Linked DNA regions of Homo sapiens: regions 1, 2, 4, 5, 6 and 7 are each linked to region 3. Evidence: promoter capture Hi-C in 16 types of primary human blood cells and fetal thymus (Javierre and others, 2016). All regions are on one chromosome and are shown on one strand. Each heading gives the region's core, a stretch centred on a gene start or on the middle of the fragment in contact. The rest is flanking DNA. Distances are from core to core; before and after follow the strand shown.

Evidence for each region. Contacts are between HindIII fragments. The CHiCAGO score rates a contact against its expected background, and 5 or more counts as called.
Region 1: a contact is called between a fragment that was not itself captured here and the fragment with the promoter of H3C2 in region 3, in 2 of 17 cell types (total CD8 T cells and total CD4 T cells). The highest score is 5.9, in total CD8 T cells.
Region 2: a contact is called between a fragment that was not itself captured here and the fragment with the promoter of H3C2 in region 3, in 3 of 17 cell types (M0 macrophages, M2 macrophages and monocytes). The highest score is 7.4, in M0 macrophages.
Region 4: a fragment that was not itself captured here is called in contact with the fragment with the promoter of H3C2 in region 3 in 1 of 17 cell types (M0 macrophages); the score reaches 6.2 in M0 macrophages.
Region 5: a contact is called between a fragment that was not itself captured here and the fragment with the promoter of H3C2 in region 3, in 1 of 17 cell types (fetal thymus). The highest score is 5.3, in fetal thymus.
Region 6: the fragment with the promoter of C6orf62 here is called in contact with the fragment with the promoter of H3C2 in region 3 in 1 of 17 cell types (M1 macrophages); the score reaches 6.2 in M1 macrophages.
Region 7: a fragment that was not itself captured here is called in contact with the fragment with the promoter of H3C2 in region 3 in 5 of 17 cell types (naive CD8 T cells, monocytes, total B cells and 2 more); the score reaches 7.1 in naive CD8 T cells.

The regions. Positions count from the first base shown.
Region 1 is chr6:27,175,645-27,178,418 of GRCh38, reverse strand. It overlaps TRI-AAT5-2 (tRNA-Ile (anticodon AAT) 5-2), which reads left to right and starts at 1,131; the gene lies at 1,131-1,204. RefSeq lists enhancers at 1-33, 384-483, 674-873, a silencer at 1,076-1,225 and a cis regulatory region at 215-1,292. The HindIII fragment of the contact is 1,154 bases long and covers 838-1,991 here.
Region 2 is chr6:27,772,611-27,775,310 of GRCh38, reverse strand. No RefSeq gene overlaps it. Among named protein-coding and RNA genes, the nearest start is that of TRQ-CTG6-1, 17 kb to the left of the region's middle. The HindIII fragment of the contact is 4,434 bases long and covers 1-2,700 here.
Region 3 is chr6:26,030,828-26,033,527 of GRCh38, reverse strand. It overlaps H3C2 (H3 clustered histone 2), which reads left to right and starts at 1,429. Exons shown (of 1, transcript NM_003537.4): 1 at 1,429-1,939. The coding sequence starts at 1,468. The coding sequence ends at 1,878. It overlaps H2AC4 (H2A clustered histone 4), which reads left to right. Exons shown (of 1, transcript NM_003513.3): 1 at 1-436. The coding sequence ends at 352. RefSeq lists a silencer at 1-52 and enhancers at 1-465, 1,403-1,522, 1,563-1,792. The HindIII fragment of the contact is 2,287 bases long and covers 1-1,451 here.
Region 4 is chr6:24,739,795-24,742,494 of GRCh38, reverse strand. LINC02828 (long intergenic non-protein coding RNA 2828) reads right to left here and starts at 190. Exons shown (of 3, transcript NR_183315.1): 1 at 149-190. The HindIII fragment of the contact is 3,603 bases long and covers 1-2,700 here.
Region 5 is chr6:27,755,511-27,758,308 of GRCh38, reverse strand. No RefSeq gene overlaps it. Among named protein-coding and RNA genes, the nearest start is that of TRV-AAC1-5, 3.4 kb to the right of the region's middle. The HindIII fragment of the contact is 200 bases long and covers 1,339-1,538 here.
Region 6 is chr6:24,717,730-24,720,429 of GRCh38, reverse strand. It overlaps C6orf62 (chromosome 6 open reading frame 62), which reads left to right and starts at 1,276. Exons shown (of 5, transcript NM_030939.5): 1 at 1,276-1,890. The coding sequence starts at 1,762. RefSeq lists a silencer at 63-232 and an enhancer at 1-595. The HindIII fragment of the contact is 3,349 bases long and covers 1-2,120 here.
Region 7 is chr6:27,479,597-27,482,333 of GRCh38, reverse strand. TRD-GTC2-6 (tRNA-Asp (anticodon GTC) 2-6) reads right to left here and starts at 2,660; the gene lies at 2,589-2,660. RefSeq lists a silencer at 2,548-2,607. The HindIII fragment of the contact is 3,440 bases long and covers 1-2,737 here.

The DNA of each region.
Region 1 (2,774 bases), core at 165-2,664, 1.1 Mb before region 3:
AAAATTCCTCAGCAAGGCATCTTTACTTCTGCAGAAGGGTGCTCCTTGCCTGTTACAATTGCAAGAGCACACCAAACAAAGGAGGTAAGGAGTTTTTAATCCTAACGCAGTTCCTGTTTCTGTGTCCTTCCCCTATTGGCTGGGGTTGGACCGCACAATCTAAGCTGATCCCGATTGGCTAAGACTTAAACTTTGGCAAATAGGGTAAACCCTGGATTTGCGAAAAAAAGGAGTGTATGTGTGTGGTGGGGGGCGGGGGGCAGGCAGGATTGACGTACAACTTTTGCAACTTATGACAAGAAAGTTGAGTCTTTGAAGAGGGACTTAGTTGTCCCAACACTCTGAGTTGCCTGACCCGGTCCTGGGCTCAGTTCCTCCCAGATACCGGCGTTTATCATTGGTGTAGATAATGGTGACTTCCCTTGTCTTAGATGTGGGTGTCTTGGTCTTCCCGGGACGGAAGGAGTCAGAGACTCTTGAAAGGAGCCGTCCCGCTGGTCCTTTCATTTACGCCGATGCCAGCCCGGCACTCGAGCATCACCAAGGGCCCGGTGCCCGGCACTGCAGGGCCAAGTCTGATTTTATCGTTTGTGGAGCTGCAAGCTTAGGACGCACAGCTGTGAATTTCGGGTCCTGGTGACTGCGGAACCACCGCGAGGCCAGGAGGCGAGACAGTGCACTTTCCCAGGTTCCCAGGCCTAAGAGCCCACCTGGCTGGAATGGTCTCAAGGAGCAGAGAGGAATCCGCACCCTCCGAGTCCTCCGAACCCTCCGATCCTGCGAACCTGCGGCGGCTCTGCGGTTGGTTCCGTGAGGAACTGGCCGCGATCGCAAGCTTGGAGCTGCTTTTTGGTTTGTTCTGAGTCCTTCACCTGGTGAGGGGAAGGAAGCCCTGCTTGGGGTCGTTGAATCTGAGTTTTCTCCAGTCAGAATCAGTGGTTTGAGATTGTTTTCCCTGAAACAGCATGGTTTTCCTGTGCCTACAGTGAGGAATTCTCCTTTTCTTAAAAAAAAATATATTTTATTAATAAAAGGGAAAGTAACGCTTCTATTACAAAAAAAAAAAAATTCAGCGGGCATGGATCAGGTATGATTTAAATAAACATAAGAAAAGACCCTCCCACCAAGGAGGCCGGTTAGCTCAGTTGGTTAGAGCGTGGTGCTAATAACGCCAAGGTCGCGGGTTCGATCCCCGTACGGGCCACTTCCGTGGGTTTGTTTTTTTTTTTTTTCTTCTTTTTCGTTTTTATTTTACACCGACCACACCTCGCTTGTAAACTTCGGTTTTACATCGAACTCCGTAGCCTCGCCTATCCATTTATAAATGTAGTTGCACTAGCTAGACAGGAATTTTTTTCTTTTTTCTTTTTTTTTTTTCTTAAATCGACCACACCTGGATTGTATACTACCGTCTTACATCCAACTCCGGAGCGCTGCCTATCCATTTGTAAATGTGGTCGCAATAGCTAGACAAGCATTAGATTTGCACGTTTTTTATTCTTTTGAAGAAATAATATACGAGTTAGGATGAAAAGGTTTTTCTTATTTGTTTGTTTTGTTTGTTTTTGAGACAGAGTCTTGCTCTGACGCCCAGGCTGGAGTGCAGCGGCGCGATCTTGGCTCGCTGCAACCTCCGCCTCCCAGGTTTAAGCAATTCTTCTGCCTCAGCCTCCCAAGTAGCTGGGATTACAGGCGTGTGCCACGATGCCTGGGTAATTTTTGTATTTTCAGTAGAGACGGAGTTTCACCATGTTGGCCAGGCTAGTCTTGAACTCCTGACCTCAGGTGATCCGCCTGCCTTGGCCTCCCAAAGTGCTGAGATTACAGGCATGAGCCATCGCGCCCGGCCAGGATGAAGATTTTTTAAAGGAAATTCAATGAGGTGGGTGGGTGATTTTAGAAAAGGGTTAAATAAGAATTCGATAATGTCTTGTATTATTTTGGGAAAAAAAAACTTTCTGAGATAATACTATTTTGACATATTTTAAGCTTTTGAAAGAGATCATATTGATTCTTCTCCTAGTTGATCACTCAGTTGGTTAAATTGTTGTGTTTGTAGCTTTGAGGGCGAGGGTTCAGTCTACGTGGGAAAAAGCCAGACTTGTGACGTTGCTTTCTGCCAAGCTCCAGACACTCAGCCACAACTGCTCAGTGTTAAAATAGATCCGTGGTTAGCCTTAGGCTTATATTTGACAGCTGTTCTCGATGTGGCCCATACCAAGCCATTTACGATGCGGCCCTTACCAAGCCATTTACAGTTCATTAAACAATTTTTGAACATATATCGTAAAAGCGATAGGTTTGAAATGTGACAAAAATGGAGTGCGTGGTGGGAGACAGGAGGGCCAGAGCCTCTGGGTCCACTCTAAGTCTTAGCACCTCGCTCTTTCTGTCCTGCGCTTTCTTTTTTTTTTTCTTTTTTTCTTTTTCTTTTTTTTTTTTTTTTTTGAGACGGAGTCTCGCTCTGTCGCCCAGGCTGGAGTGCAGTGGCGCAATCTCGGCTCACTGCAAGCTCCGCCTCCCGGGTTCACGCCATTCTCCTGCCTCAGCCTCCCAAGTAGCTGGGACTACAGGCGCCCGCCACTACGCCCGGCTAATTTTTTGTATTTTTAGTAGAGACGGGGTTTCACCGTTTTAGCCGGGATGGTCTCGATCTCCTGACCTCGTGATCCGCCCGCCTCGGCCTCCCAAAGTGCTGGGATTACAGGCGTGAGCCACCGCGCCCAGCCCTGTCCTGCGCTTTCTTGGAGTCTGGTCACTGGGTCCCCGTGTGC
Region 2 (2,700 bases), core at 169-2,668, 1.7 Mb before region 3:
TCTATGAACTTACTCCCAACCCCGTGCTCTCTGAAACATGTGCTGTGTCAAACTCAGGGTTAAATGGATTAAGGGCGGTGCAAGATGTGCTTTGTTAAACAGATGCTTGAAGGCAGCATGCTCGTTAAGCGTCATCACCACTCCCTAATCTCAAGTACCCAGGGACACAAACACTGCAGAAGGCCGCAGGGACCTCTGCCTAGGAAAGCCAGGTATTGTCCAAGGTTTCTCCCCATGTGATAGTCTGAAATATGGCCTCTTGGGAAGGGAAAGACCTGACCGTCCCCCAGCCCGACACCTGTAAAGGGTCTGTGCTGAGGAGGATTAGTATAAGAGGAAGGCATGCCTCTTGCAGTTGAGACAAGAGCAAGGCATCTGTCTCCTGTCCGTCCCTGGGCAATGGAATGTCTCGGTATAAAACCCGATTGTACGTTCCATCTACTGAGATAGGGAAAAACCGCGTTAGGGCTGGAGGTGGGACATGCGGGCAGCAATACTGCTTTGTAAAGCATTGAGATGTTTATGTGTATGCATATCTAAAAGCACAGCACTTAATCCTTTACCTTGTCTATGATGCAAAGACCTTTGTTCACGTGTTTGTCTGCTGACCCTCTCCCCACAATTGTCTTGTGACCCTGACACATCCCCCTCTCGGAGAAACACCCACGAATGATCAATAAATACTAAGGGAACTCAGAGGCTGGTGGGATCCTCCATATGCTGAACGCTGGTCCCCCGGGTCCCCTTATTTCTTTCTCTATACTTTGTCTCTGTGTCTTTTTCTTTTCCAAGTCTCTCGTTCCACCTTACGAGAAACACCCACAGGTGTGGAGGGGCAACCCACCCCTTCATTCTCTCTTCACTAGAAAACCAGTGAGGAAGTGGAAGGAGGAGACTGAGCACCTGCCATGTAATATGCAGTGGTGTACCTCACTTAATGTGCAGCAGGAAGAGCCGCAGACAAAACCCCTCAGACACCGAGTTAAAGAAGGAAGGGGTTTATTTGGCCTGGAGCATCGGCAAGACTTCTGTCTCAAGAACCGAGCTCCCTGAGTGAGCAATTCCTGTCCCTTTTAAGGGCTCACAACTCTAAGGGGGTCCACATGAGAGGGTCGTGATCAACTGAGCAAGCAGGGGGTGCATGTTTGGGGGCTGCATGCACCAGTAATCAGAACGGAACAGAACAGGACAGGGATTTTTACAATGCTTTTCCATACAATGTCTGGAAACTATAGATAACATAACCAGTGTTAGGTCAGGGGTTAATCTTTAACTACCAGGCCCAGGGCGTGGCGCCGGGCTGTCTGCCTGTGGATTTCATTTCTGCTTTTTAGTTTTTACTTCTTCTTTCTTTGGAGGCAGAAATCGGGCATAAGACAATATGAGGGGTGGTCTCCTCCCTCATTCGCTCACCTCATTAAAAGTGATGAGGCTGTCTTTGTCTTACAGATGAGAAGACTGAGGCATAAATCTGTGACCCTTCACCTGTATGTTTCAATTTCATGTCTATGTTTATCAGGATGCTTTTTTGTTTGTTTGTTTTTGCAGAGGGTGGGGAACAGGGTCTTGCTCTGTCACCTAGGCTGCAGTGCAGTGGCACGATCATAACTCACTATAACCTTGACCTCCTGGGCTTAAGTGATCCTCCTACCTCAGCCTCCCCAGTAACTAGGACTACAGGCCCACACCACCACACCTGGCTAATTTTTTTATTATTATTTTTTGTGGAGATGAGGTCTCGCTAGGCATGAGCCACGAGACCTATTCCTCGTTTTTGAAAGGTAAAGGATCCGACACTTTAGAAGAAAGGTAAAGGAGGAATTTTTAGAGAAACCAGTTCAAGAGAAGCTGTTAATGGTACTTACAGGAAACATAAGTGTTTGAACGACAAGGCTGGAAAAGAATTAATGCACCATGGGACAATTATCATAACGAGAGTGGTAAGGAGATGGAATGGAGAGTTGGGGGGAAGGAGAAATCAGCAGTTTCCCAGATCTGGAATTACAACAGGGCCCCAAGTTCCCATCCCACCATCAGGAAAGATACCTGGTGAGAACCTCAAATAGACCTGCTGATGTTTCTTCAACACTGCCTTGCACGTCCCTTTCCTCGTGTTCATGTGGGGACCTGCAGGTCATTAAACTACAAATCAGTCTTACCTGCTTCATGAGGAGCTTTTTCCCAAGAGACATTTAGCAAAGAGCTTGGGCGATATCCTTAGCGCTGTAGTGGTGGACAGAGCTTTCCTCCGAGCAGTCTCATGGGCAGAGCTTTCCTCCAAGCAGTCGGAGAGCTTTCCTAAGCTCCTAACAGCTCCTAAAGGAGCTGTTAAAATTAGCTACAAGGACAAGGAAGAGCTTGGGCTGATAAGACCCTAATAAACAGGATGAGGGCTAAGCTGTCTGAAACCGTCTGAGTCCAACGTGGCGCTGGATTTGACCCATGCCCTACCCAAGACCTAATTATATGCTAATTACCAAACGAAATTACACACCTTCAGAGAGCTTTCCTCTGACTGCTTGGAGGAAGCTCTGCCCACCACAAATGCAACGAGTAACCCTGGCACCCAGTTGCGTTTCCGCGGCTTGCTAAAGGCCTGCTCTCCAAGGCTGCCAGGCCTTGCTGAGTTTGCACAAAGAAACGCGGCCCGCGGTAGCAGGCGTCCGGCTTCCTGGGGCGCGCCGCCTGGTGGAGACTGCG
Region 3 (2,700 bases), core at 180-2,679:
GGCTAAGACTCGGTCTTCTCGTGCAGGTTTGCAGTTTCCTGTGGGCCGAGTGCACCGCCTGCTCCGCAAAGGCAACTACTCCGAGCGCGTCGGGGCTGGCGCGCCGGTGTATCTCGCGGCGGTGCTTGAGTACCTGACCGCCGAGATCCTGGAGCTGGCGGGCAATGCGGCCCGCGACAACAAGAAGACCCGCATCATCCCGCGCCACCTGCAATTGGCCATCCGCAATGACGAGGAGCTTAATAAACTCTTGGGGCGTGTGACCATCGCGCAGGGTGGCGTTTTGCCTAATATTCAGGCGGTGCTGCTGCCTAAGAAAACTGAGAGCCATCATAAGGCCAAGGGAAAGTGAAGAGTTAACGCTTCATGCACTGCTGTTTTTCTGTCAGCAGACAAAATCAGCCTAACAGCAAAGGCTCTTTTCAGAGCCACCTACGACTTCCATTAAATGAGCTGTTGTGCTTTGGATTATGCCGCCCATAAAGATGTTTTTGAGGTGTTTTTAATGGCTTTGAGTGTGGCACTTTTAGTAATTTGTCCTGCAGAAATTAGATCCATAGAAACCTCAGGAATTCTAGGTATGTGGGAGAAGTGCCATGCAGCACAAAACATGTTTACAGGGGTGATTCGCGTTAAGTTTCACACACAGCAGTTACTACATTTTAGAGGAAGGAAATTATACCCATGAGTGCATTCCTAACTATCTTGAATGGAAGTGTTAAAACCCGCATGCCCCACACAAGTTTGAATATGTCATACCATTTGCTGTAGCAATTAATGGCATACACAATTGAGAGCACACACATTACCACTGAACATTTGAGTATGTATTTCCCAAAATGAGCTTTTTTCCAGTTTGGGGATGTTTTGCTTTGTTTTGGGGTGGAGTCTCCCTCTCGCCCAAGCTGCAGTGCAGCGGCGTGATAACAGCTCACTGTAACCTCGAACTCGGGCTCAAGCGATCCTCTTGACAGCCTTCTGAGTAGCTGGGATTACAGGCGAGAGCCGCCACGCCCGGCTAAGAGCATTTTTCTAATTGCCCACACTTCTTATGCGACACCCAGAAAAATACAATTTTAAATAAAGCGCATATGCAAATTTCCCTAATCGTCTCCAATATTCTCTGATTTCTTTTTTATATTTTAACTAGAAACAATTGGAGGTTTCCGCGTTGCTTTGTGTGGTTGTAAATTTTAAGACTTCAGGAAACTTTTCCAGTACAAGACTTGTCCACAGTGGATATAGCAGCTAAGGGGTTAACAAAATGACGTCAGAGTAGCTACGGTAATGGGCAGGAGCCTCTCTTAATCTGCAACCAGGCACAGAGATGGACCAATCCAAGAAGGGCGCGGGGATTTTTGAATTTTCTTGGGTCCAATAGTTGGTGGTCTGACTCTATAAAAGAAGAGTAGCTCTTTCCTTTCCTCCACAGACGTCTCTGCAGGCAAGCTTTTCTGTGGTTTTGCCATGGCTCGTACTAAACAGACAGCTCGGAAATCCACCGGCGGTAAAGCGCCACGCAAGCAGCTGGCTACCAAGGCTGCTCGCAAGAGCGCGCCGGCTACCGGCGGCGTGAAAAAGCCTCACCGTTACCGCCCGGGCACTGTGGCTCTGCGCGAGATCCGCCGCTACCAAAAGTCGACCGAGTTGCTGATTCGGAAGCTGCCGTTCCAGCGCCTGGTGCGAGAAATCGCCCAAGACTTCAAGACCGATCTTCGCTTCCAGAGCTCTGCGGTGATGGCGCTGCAGGAGGCTTGTGAGGCCTACTTGGTAGGGCTCTTTGAGGACACAAACCTTTGCGCCATCCATGCTAAGCGAGTGACTATTATGCCCAAAGACATCCAGCTCGCTCGCCGCATTCGCGGAGAAAGAGCGTAAATGTAAAGTCACTTTTTCATCAGTCTTAAAACCCAAAGGCTCTTTTCAGAGCCACCCACTTATTCCAACGAAAGTAGCTGTGATAATTTTTTGTTGTCTTAACAGAACAAATTTCTAAGGACCCCCCCGGAAAGCATTAGACTATGGTCTTAAAGTTGATTAACAGAAATAACGGTTTGGTCAGTCTTGCAGTGTAGGTTATTTCTGACCTTATTAAGGTGCTATTTGGAGAGAAGCTGTGTAAGTCCACTATCATTCAGGCCTCTAGCTTGCTATGATTAGCATTTGTTTAAACAACTTTGTAAGAGTAAGGGAAAAATCTGGTAAGTAGTTAACTGGCGCTTACTAGGCATTTTTGCAAAGCTTTGAAAAGATTAGAAAATTGTGTCTTGCGAGTTCCAGTGTCTTCCTCAAAATGCTTAGGAAGATTTTCTCAGCTCAATACATAGTCCCCTAGGTTTTCTCATATATTATATATATATATATATATATATATACTGTTAAATTCATTTGGCTGTTAACATTAACCTGAAATTTATTCTGGTGCAAAATGTGAGGCAGGGATCTAACTGGCTCTCATTTTATCCATAGCTAGCTACCCACTTTAAATCTGTCAGTCTGTCGACCAAGCATAATTTAATCCCTTATATATGAATTTTTATATGTGTGGCTTTGCTTGTAAATAGTCTATCTGGTTGCATTGCTTTGTCTCCTCTAGGACTATGCACCATGACATGCCACATTCTTTTTTTCAGTACTTCTTGCCTGTAGTTATTAAAATCTAGAATTTACAAGTTTTAACCATTTTCTTTCTGTTGATCT
Region 4 (2,700 bases), core at 132-2,631, 1.3 Mb after region 3:
GCGGTTTCCATCCTCCCAGCAACACTGAAACTGTTTTCTAAAAGGTCAACAAAGACCTCTTTTTAGTTAAATCCATTATTCTTTTCTGGTTTTTCTTTCTCTGTTTCTCTCTACAGCATTAAAAAGAAAAAAAAAAGATTTCTCATACCTCAAATGTTCGGCTTCCTTGGCTTCTGTCCTATTTGCTAGCAGTTCCTTCCCTTTTTATTGCCTTTTATTTCTCTTGCCATTCCTTTGCTACGTATTCCCTTGCTCCCTATTCTCTCTATCCTTTCACTCCAAAGTCACATTATCTTCCCTGTAGCCATTACCTCTGCGGTTAAAAAGGCCTGTTCTGTTTTCTTTTTCTTTTCTTTCTTTCTTTCTTTCTTTTCTTTTTTTTTTTTTTTTTTGAGATGGAGTCTTGCTCTGTTTCCCAGGCTGGAGTGCAGTGGCTCTGTCTCAGCTCACTGCAACCTCTGCCTCCCAGGTTCAAGCAATTCTCCTTCCTCAGCCTCCCGAGTAGCTGGAATTACAGGCATGTGCCACCATGCCTGGCTAATTTTTGTATTTTTAGTAGAGATGGGGTTTTACCATGTTGGCCAGGTGGTCTCGAACTCCTGACTGCAGGTAATCTGCCCTCCTTGGCCTTCCAAAGTGCTGGGATTACAGGCGTGAGCCGCCATATTTCACTGGGGCTGCAATTTTAAATTTTATTTTATGTATATATGTATTTATTTATTTATTTTAATTTTTTATTTTTTGAGACAGAGTCTCACACTGTAGCCCAGGCTGGAGGGCAGTGGTCAGATATCAGCTCACTGCAACCTCTGCCTCCCAGGCTCAAATGATCCTCCCACCTCAGTCTCCTGAGTAGCTGGGATTACAGGCGTGCACCACCACACCAAGCTAATTTTTTTGTATTTTTAGTAGAGATGGGGTTTTGCCATGTTGGCCAAGCTAGTCTTGAACTCCTGACCTAAAGTAATCTGCCTGCCTTGGCCTGCCAAAGTGCTGGGATTACAGCCATGAGCCACCATGCCTGGCCTTATTTACATATTTATTTTTGAGATGAGGTCTCAGTCTGTCACCCAGACTGGAGTGCAGTGCTGCTGTGATAGATAACTGTAGCCTGAAGCTCCTGGGCTCAAGCAATCCTTCTGCCTCAGCTTCCCAAGTAGCTGGGACTACAGATGCAAGCCACCATGCCCAGATAATTTATGAGTTTTTTGTAGAGATGGCATCTCACTATATTGCCCAGGCTGGTCTTGAACTCCTGGGTTCAGGCAAACCTCCCATGGCTGGGCTCTAGGCTTGGCTTTCCAAAGTGCTGGGGTTATAGGCATGAACCACTATGCCTGGCTGGTGCTGCAATTCAAAATCACCTCCCTTCTCAAACTAGCTCCCTTTCCCACTTTCCTGCCTGTGGTCATGGCATGGTCACTTTCTTAGTCACTGTCTTAGTCTGCTCAGGCTGCCATAACAAAACACCACAGACTGGATAGCTAAAACAACAGAAATTTATTTTCTCACAGTTCTCTGGGTCAGAAGTCCAAGATCAAGATTCTGGCAGGTTTGGTTTCTCCTGAACTCTCTCTCCTTGGCTTGCAGATGGCCATCTTCTTGGTGGGTCCTCACATGGCTTTTATTTTATTTTATTTTTTGCACCAGAGGCAGGGTCTCATTCTGCTGCCTCAGACTCCCGAGCTCAAGCAATGCTCCTGCTTTAGCTTCTCAAGTTGTTGGGATTACAGGCATGCACCACTGTACCCAGCAATGGCCTTTCTTTTGTGCATGTATTTCTGGTTTCTCTCCCTTTTCTTATAAGGACATTAATCATATTGGATTGGAGACCACTCTAATAACTTTTTCACCTCTCTAATAATTTTTTAACCTTAATCATCTCTTTAAAGGTCTTATCTCTAAATACAGGCACATTCTGAAGCATACTAGGGATTAGGATTTCAATATATGAATTTTGGGGAGGCACAATTCAGTCCGTAACAGTTACTCGCACCAAAACTTGGGTGTCCTCTTCACTTACCTCTATCATTTTCTATCCAGATATTTTACTTTCTAGATTTTTTCTATTAAGTGTTTAAATTCATCCTTTTATCACCATTGCCAGTGCCATTTTCAGGCCTTAATCAACTCTAAATTTCCATGCCTGGTCTTTTATAAGGCCCTCTGTAATCTGACCCATCTTGTCTTTTCTTTTAGTATGTTTATCATGTACATTGTAGAAAATATAACACTAAATTTTTGTGTCTGGCTACTTTCACTCAATAAAAAAGCAACAGTCCTCTTCCCTACCCAGACCCATTTCCCAGATGCAGCCTTCATATAGTTGAAAATTCAAAAGGTACCAAAGTCTACACTGTGAAAAATCTCCCTCCCACAGGCAACCAACGTTATTAGTTTATTGTATATCCTGATCTTATAGCTAGTTTGTACCCATGGGTACGTCTACTCATTTTCCCACAAATGGCAGTGTATTAGCCTGTTCTCATACTGTTATGATGAAATATTCACAATTGGGTAATTTATAAAGAAAAAGAGGTTTAATGGACACACAGTTCCATATGGCTGGGGAGGCCTCACAATCATGGCAGAAGGTGAAGGAGGAGCAAAGGTACATCTTAAATGGTGGCAGGCAAGGGCAGGTATGCAGGGGAACTGCCCTTTATAAAACCATCAGATCTTGTGAGATTTATTCACTAT
Region 5 (2,798 bases), core at 189-2,688, 1.7 Mb before region 3:
AAACATACAACTAATATCATTCTCAACAGCGAAAGACTGAAAATTTTTCTCCTACAATCAGGAATAATGGGTGCCCACTTTCACCATGTTATTCAGCACAGTATTGGCAAGGAAAAAGTAAAATTATCTATGTTCACAGATAACATGACTTTTTTTTGAGAGAGAGATGGGATCTCTCTTTGTCACCCAGGCTGGGATGCAGCAGAGCAATTATGCCTCACTGAAGCCTCGACTTCCCTGGTTCAAGCGATTACCCTGCCTCATCCTCCGGAGTAACTGGGACCACAGGCGCCTGCCACCATGCCCGGCTAATAAAAAAAATTTTAGAGACTAGGGTCTCGCTATGTTGCCCGTGTTGCCCAGGCTGGTCTCGAACTCCTGGGCTCAGGCGATCCTCCTACCTTGGCCTCCCAAAGTGCTGGGATTACAGGTGTGAGCCACCAAGCCTGGCCGTGACATGATTTTTATATATAGAAAACCCTGAAAATTACACACACACACTCAAACACACACACACACAAACTGTTACAGCAAATAAAGAAATTTAGCAAAATAAGGATAAACAACCACATGAGTTCCAGCAGAGAGCGCGGTGGGAAGCGGAGCGCGGCCAGCTGCTCTGGGGCCCTGCAGACCCTCTGGTCTTGGACCTGAGGAGGAGACGGGGGCCCGGCCCCGCGGCGGCCTCTGCTCTGCAGGCTCCCAGAGTCCTTGCTGTGTCTCCCACCGGCCAGGCCCAGGCCTGAGGCAGCGTCGAACCTCTCTTCACTTCCCACCTCGGTGACCTGGTGGCCCTCTGGTCTTCCAGAAAACCCTGCCGGGCCTAGACTAAGCCCCCGCTGGCCGCCAGGACGCAGCGCCTTTGTGTGGCGGCGGGTGTCGGGGGCGGGAAGAATCGCGCGGAAGCTGCCGGGGTGTGCAGGGACCGGGAAGGCGGAGCTAGGGATGCAGGTTCGGTCGCCTCTTTAGGCCACTGCGCCACGCAGATTGGGTCCAGAAGGTGCCGTTAAGTTTCTTCCCAGAAACTGTCAAGGTGCTGGTATGTTTCTTGCCCTTGCACTTTTAGTGTACTAAAATCAACGGCCAAACTCTACTCTTTATAGCAATCAAAGTATTCACCCATGCGCCCAATTTCTTTGCAAATGCCAAGCAAGAAAACCTCAGGTAGATGGAGGGAGCAGATAATTTGACTTTTTTTTTCTTTAATTTCACTATAGTGTCCTCCTCCACACATACAAGGATGAAGTTTTGTTTTTTAAGATGAAACAAATTTGTCATTAATGAAAGGATTGTCAAAATCTTCCCAAAGGTCCTCAGCTTCTGAATCACCTGGAAGCTTCTAAAAATTAAGACTTGTGGGCCATACCAGAGACCCTCTGCACTAGAAGGGGGTATGGCAAGGAATCTTAGGAATAGTCCACCTGGAGAATCACTAGCGTAAGTTCTGGGCCTCACATTCCCTCAGAAGAGTCCCATGAACCTGTGGTCAGCAGCTTAGGGCTGGTCTTCTTTACTGATCTGAGGGACAATGGGAAGCTTAGGACTCCCTGCATGGCATCTCTCCCGCCCAGGGGAGAACAGCTCAACAAATTTCCTCATTAACTACAAAGTTAAATGGAAGCATATGCTATGAAAATGCCACAAAAAGCTGTTGCTAGATGAAAATGTCTAAATTTGCTTTAAATTATCATGGGGGCTTGGCAGAGGGAGGAGAGACTAATTGTTGAAGTAGGATCATGGAAATAAGGAGGTCCATAATATTCTCTATAATCTTTTTTTGTCATAAACAGGGGTTTATAAAACTACCTAGTATAGCATGGTGGTCAAGAACACCAGTTCTGGAGACAAACACACCTGGTGGTGTCCTTTCCTAGCTAGCATAACCTCAGCACATTGTTCAAGCCTTAACTTGCTCAAATGTAAACCCGAAATGACAGGGATAGATCTTGACTCAGGAGGCTTGACAAGGCTAAAAGTAATACTAAAAATAAAAGCAGTAACTACTTCTGTAAGTTGAGCACTGTCTGAAACACTTCAGGGAGTTTTTCTTAATTGAGTTTATGATAATTCTATGAGGTACACACTGTATCCATATCCATTTTACCAGCACAGACAGAGTCATGAAGAAGCCAAATAGCTTGCCTGAAACCCTACATATGATGAGAAAGTGGCAGAGGAAGGAATTGTACTCAGATATTTTGGCTCCAAAGATCCCTGCCAGATCTGCCCTGCCAGTTCATAAGGACTAAGAAGATGCCTCCTCTCTATACTACCATCCAAATGCTTCGCAATCTGTACGTCTGTTGCTCCACTTTTTGCTTATGGCATATTGGCTGCTCATGTTCCTCTTTCTTCTCCTTGAGAGTTAGGATTGTGTAATCTTGTCCTGCATGCCTCTGGTACTCCTAGTGACAACATAGGGTCACAATTGTCTGGCACATTGTTTGTAGCTCAATAATTTATTTTTCTTTTTAAAAAAATTTGAAATGGGGATCTCGCAATGTTGCCCAGGCTGTCTCGAACTCATGGCTCAAGTGATCATCCCGCCTAAGCCTCCCAAAGTGCTAGAATTACAGGCATGAGCCACTGTGCCCAGCCAATAATTTATTTTAATTAATATGAAATAAATGTGTTTACAACAATTTTTTTTAAATTAGAGATGGAGTCTCCCTATATTGCCCAGGCTGGAGGGCAGTGGCTTTTCACAGACACAATCATTGCACATGCAACCTCAAACTCCTGGGCTCAAGTGATCTTCCTGATTTACTTCGTCTCCAGAGTAACTAGAACTACAGGTA
Region 6 (2,700 bases), core at 27-2,526, 1.3 Mb after region 3:
GGTGGGGGCTGAGCGGCGGCAGCAGCGCGGGCGGTCCAGTCACGGTGCGCACTGCAGCGGGGATGGAGGGGCTCAGTTGGCTGGTGGTTTTCTCTTGACATGGCTCCTGCCCGTGCTACCAGCAGCGCCCCCGCCGCCGCCGCCTCTTCCGCCGCCGCCACCGCTCCGCCCGCAGGCTGCGGCTAGAGGGCCCAAACCCCGCCCTAGAGTCGGTCCGTGAGTCCCGGGCTCCGCGGGGACAGGGAGGGGATTTCCCCGTCACCCACCCCGCCCTAGCTGCCTCAATTCCACCCCCTGCCCCTCGGGAAACAACTAACGACCCCACCCTAAACAATCCAAACTCTGGAAACATGGTCTGTTCAACGTGAGAGAGAGCTAATCCGGGAACTTAATTTTTTGGGGGGAGGGTGGGTGGGCTTACTTTAGAAGTAATATTAACACAATTATTTTCTTTTTTTCCCCCACTGAACCTTCCCATTTACCCTCTCCCGCCCACTCCACCCGGGCGGGAATTGTTTCCACGATGAAATGAGTGAAAACCTGAGTGATCCTGTGTCTCCCGTGGTGCGAGTGAGTCGCTGCCGCTGAAGGCAAGGGGTGGGGGTGGGACCTGCGGGGGTGGAAGGCAGGTGGTCTCCGGGCACCGCCTGGGATTTGGGAGAAGAACCCGCCACCTTTGCCTCGGCAATGCTCACAAGAAGATAAATCGCACTCCCCACCATTTTGAACGGGGGCAGATCCACAGGGAAGTCTCCCTTGGGGAATGTAGGACTAGTTGCAGGCTGGGGGTGTTGGGAACCCGGGCATTAATCAGGTCTAACCACAGAGCCGGAATAATTAATACCGTATTATATACCCCTTTTCCTTCTGCCGTCATGATTCTCCTTGGCAGCAGCGTTAGCAGCCGCCTGAGGGTGAAAATGTGGGTGATGGGGAAGTTGGTAATGACTCCGCTGTTTTTTCTCATGGCTCCTTTGGGCCACAGCTGCCCGCCCCCGGTATACACTGTAGTTGATTGCAGGGAAACCCTGTACCTCTCCCTTTCCTTCTCTACCGATTTTGCACTTTTCTCTATGCTCACCACCAAGTGTAATCAATAACAAGCACTGACAATACATAGCAATAGTGAAATCTGAAATAACTAAGAATTAGGTACTACAGCCATGGAGCTGGCTGGGTAAAATCTAATTGGATATTTCAGTTTCATTCACCTACCCTGTTTTGGTGTTTGGTTTTGGTTTTGGTTTTGGTGAGTTTTTTTTTTTTTTTTTTTTGGAAAGCAAGGATCACACTTCCCCCTCCCTGTTCCTTAATCCCTTTTCTAAAAAGGGGGGAAAATCCGGATGGATTTTAGGGATTGGTCTGGTGTCAGCTGTGTTTTATTGCACACCTAAATCCTGATTATAGGCTTTTCATTTCTCCGCAAAGCCTTTATTTTGGCAGTTAAGCCAAATGTGTTTTCCAGAAAGTTAGTTATTTTCTCCTCTTTCTTTCCTTTCTTTCCTCCCTTTTTCCCGTCTGACCCCAAACGTTATTGTCCAAACATGACTGGACAGCAGCTTTTGTTTCTTGACCCTGTAATATGACAGTCTGCTAATATTGACAGAAGGTGCAGTTTTTGGGTTATAGTCGTGATTTTCGCTAATCAATCATATTAGCAGGAAAAAAAATGACTTGTTTCTGTTGTACTTGAGTCTTAAGAAAAAGTGCCCATAGTTTAGTGACAATTTCCAAAGGCTTTAGTACCACCTGTATTTCAAAATGGGGGACCCAAACTCCCGGAAGAAACAAGCTCTGAACAGACTACGTGCTCAGCTTAGAAAGAAAAAAGAATCTCTAGCTGACCAGTTTGACTTCAAGATGTATATTGCCTTTGTATTCAAGGAGAAGGTAATTTAAAGTTCTTAATGGTGAATTAGCACAAGTAATTTTTGTAAGTGTATATTATTTGTTACTCTTAAATTATTATGAATATTAGGTTAAAGAGTGGTTGAAAAAAAGTCTGCTTTGTATGCTCTGTTTTTTCACCCTTAGGGGTGATTCTGTGAATTGAGCAGTTGCAGCATGCGAAAAGACCCTTGAGCGTTCTTTGGTTTGGAAATAAATTTGAGTCTGAAGCTTAGTAGTAGTATACACTGAGTTGACATGGGGTGGGCAAGATTACAAAATTTTATATGGAGTTAACATGGGAAACCTTATGATGGAATTTAAAGATTATCTAATGTAGAGTATAAATAAGATGGTTGAAAGTGTGAAATTGTAATCAGACTGTTTATATGCTAAAGTTTATCCTGTTTCTTAAACTGCGTAATGTAGGTAACCTTTTCTCTTACATTTAATGAAGTAGAATACACCTTTTAGGAGCAATTAAATACTGAAATGGTTAATTTGTGTTTAGAAGTGTGATTTTCTTTTTTACTTAGAGTTCATTTTGCCTTGTATAGAAGTACAGTTTTTAAAAACTCAAAATGACCTAGAGGAAGTTTCATTTTTAGGGGCGGTGGAGGTCTTAATCAGAATTAGTTCCGCAGTTAAATAGCAAACAGTAAGTTGTGAGTAGTCAAGGATGGGATGATAAGAGCAGTATTTTTTGCAACTTAAAATGAACATTTTCTTAAATTATCAGCAAGGCTTATTTGACCAAAGATGAGGTTATGAATGTAAGGAAGTGCTACTTGGATTTTGGTGCTTAAATTGTTA
Region 7 (2,737 bases), core at 116-2,615, 1.4 Mb before region 3:
ATTTTGACCATCAAGTTCTATGCACGTTGGTAGCCCCAAACTCTGACCAGTATCTCCTTAGTCCAGCACAACTGCCTCTTTCCACATGAGGTCTATTCCACAATGGTGCAATACGGGACACACCTTCAGGAGGAAAGCACTTTCAAATGTGCAAACTCATATAATGTGCTTCCCTTCTCTCAAGGATTGTAGTTTGTCAAGCCTTGCCTGGGTTGACAGCTTATCAGTGCCTTCAAACAGTTGCTTTAAGTCGGGCTTGGTGGCTCACACCTGTAATCCCAGCATTTTGGGAGGCTGAGGCAGGTAGATCACGAGGTCAGGAGTTCAAGACCAGCCTGGCCAACGTGGTGAAACCCTGTCTCTACTCAAAATACACGCCTGCAATCCCAGCTACTCGGGAGGCTGAGCCAGGAGAATGGCTCGAACTCAGGAGGCAGAGGTTGTGGTGAGCCAAGATTGCGCCATTGCACAGCAGCTTGGGCGATAGAGCGAGACTCTGTCTCAAAAAAAAAAAAAAGCCAGAAACAAACAAACAAACAAAACAATTGCTTTATAGTTCTTATCCACGATGAATCATTTTTCTTCTAGATTAAAAAAGAAATAATAGATTAAAAGGAAGTAATAGAGACAAACGAGATTCAATGTTAGGTGAAAAGGATGAGGCATCAATCACTCTACTGTTCAATAGTGTTAACGAAAAAAAGAATCCATTGGCTGAAAGTGTTGCACAATAATATTAACTTTTAAATTTGATGGCCAAAATTTCATGACAAAAATGTTAATAATAATTATTTTTCTTTTTTTTTTTTTTGGAGACAGAGTCTTGCTCTGTCGCCCAGGCTGGAGTGCAATGCTGCAATCTTGGTTCACTGCAACCTCCGCCTCCCGGGTTCAAGTGATTCTCCTGCCTCAGCCTCCGAGTAGCTGGGATTACAGGTGCCCGCCACCACACCCAGCTAATTTTTGTATTTTTAGTAGAGATGGGGTTTCAGCAGGTTGGCCAGGCTGGTATCGAACTCCAGACCTCAGGTGATCCACCCGCCTCAGCCTCCCAAAGTGCTTGGATTAGAGGCATGAGCCACCTCGCCTGGCCAATAAGTATTTTTAAAACAAAATCAGACATATTGTTATATGCTGGAAGAGTATTCTTTCATTAAAGAAGCAATGCTGTTGGCTTTGATTATGGCTCACAAAAATATTGCTTTTAATATTCATCCATTCAGCGTTGGTCGAGGGTATATACTAGGTACACTTCTAATTCCTACCTTATTATAAAGGAGCTTAGAATGATTTGGATTTCGCCATACCTTTCCATTTTATATTGTCGTTGCTGTTTTGAAATTTAGTACCATTTGTTTTCATATTCCAACATGTAATCATTACGAAACAATGTTGTTTCAGGCATTCACTCTTTATGTAGCTTTTGTCACATGTTATGAATTTTCTTGCTCACTTATAACATTTTGAATCCCACTCCTTCATCAGTTCTAAATTCCTATTCATTAATGTAGTCGTCACTCTTGTCATATGCATTGTTCAAAATTGTATATTTGCCCTTTTACATTTTAATTCGTATATTTTCATTTATAGTTTTATTAGGCTTTTCTCCTTTTAACTTTCCATTCTGAAATTATTTTAGACTGACAGACACAGTACATGAATAATACAGATAATTCCTGAGCACCCTTCACCCCAATTCCCTCAATATTAGCACATTAAGGATATTCCTATATTTTCTTTTCCTTCTCTCTCTCATATATATACATAAATGTATATTTCTGAACTATTTGACAGTGAGTTTGAAGACACATACCTCCCCTTACCCTTAAATACGTATTTTGTAAATAGGTGTGAATTTTCTTAAAGACATTTTGTTCTATAACCATAGAACAATTAATACAATCAGGAATTCACATTCATAATATTATAAAATCTATAGACTTTATTGAGATTTCACCAACTATTTCAATAATGTCCTTTAAGATAAAAATTCCAGACCATATGTTGCTGTCATATCTTTAAGATCTTCTATAATGTGGACTATTTAGTCAGCCTTTCTTTGTGTTCTGTAACTTTGTTATTTTATTTATTTGTTTATTTATTTATTTATTTATTTATTTATTTTTCCTCCCTGCTTGCCTGTTACTAGGTTGATGCAAAAGTAATTGCAGTTTTTGAGGCGTACAAGTCAGTTATTTTGTTAAAATCTCCCTCAATATGGGTTTGTCTGATGTTTTCTGATTTAGATTACATATTTTTGCCAAGAATACCACAAAAGTGACGTTGTGCTCTCATGAGCACATCCTGTAAAAAAGGTATATAATGTAGATTCGTCCCAATACTGATTCAATCACTTGGGTAAGATGGTATCTACCCGGTTTCTCCACTGTGATGGAGATTACAGTGCAGAGTGGAAATTTTCTTGCTATTACAGAACCTCATGATTTCTACAGCTTATGGTTTTTGCGATCAGTATTTCGTTGGTTTGAAAGAACTCTGCTAAAGAAAAAGAGAACCCAACATTTGCCCAGAAGACTAGAGACTGTGTTTACCGGAAGTGTGCTTTTCTAAAAAAAAGTTTAAGCCTCCTCCCCGTCGGGGAATCGAACCCCGGTCTCCCGCGTGACAGGCGGGGATACTCACCACTATACTAACGAGGAATTGACGTGAAAATGGAGCTCTTAGGAAATCCCTGTGAAGTTACTCGCTATTGTCCATCTTTCTTTGCTCTGTAGTC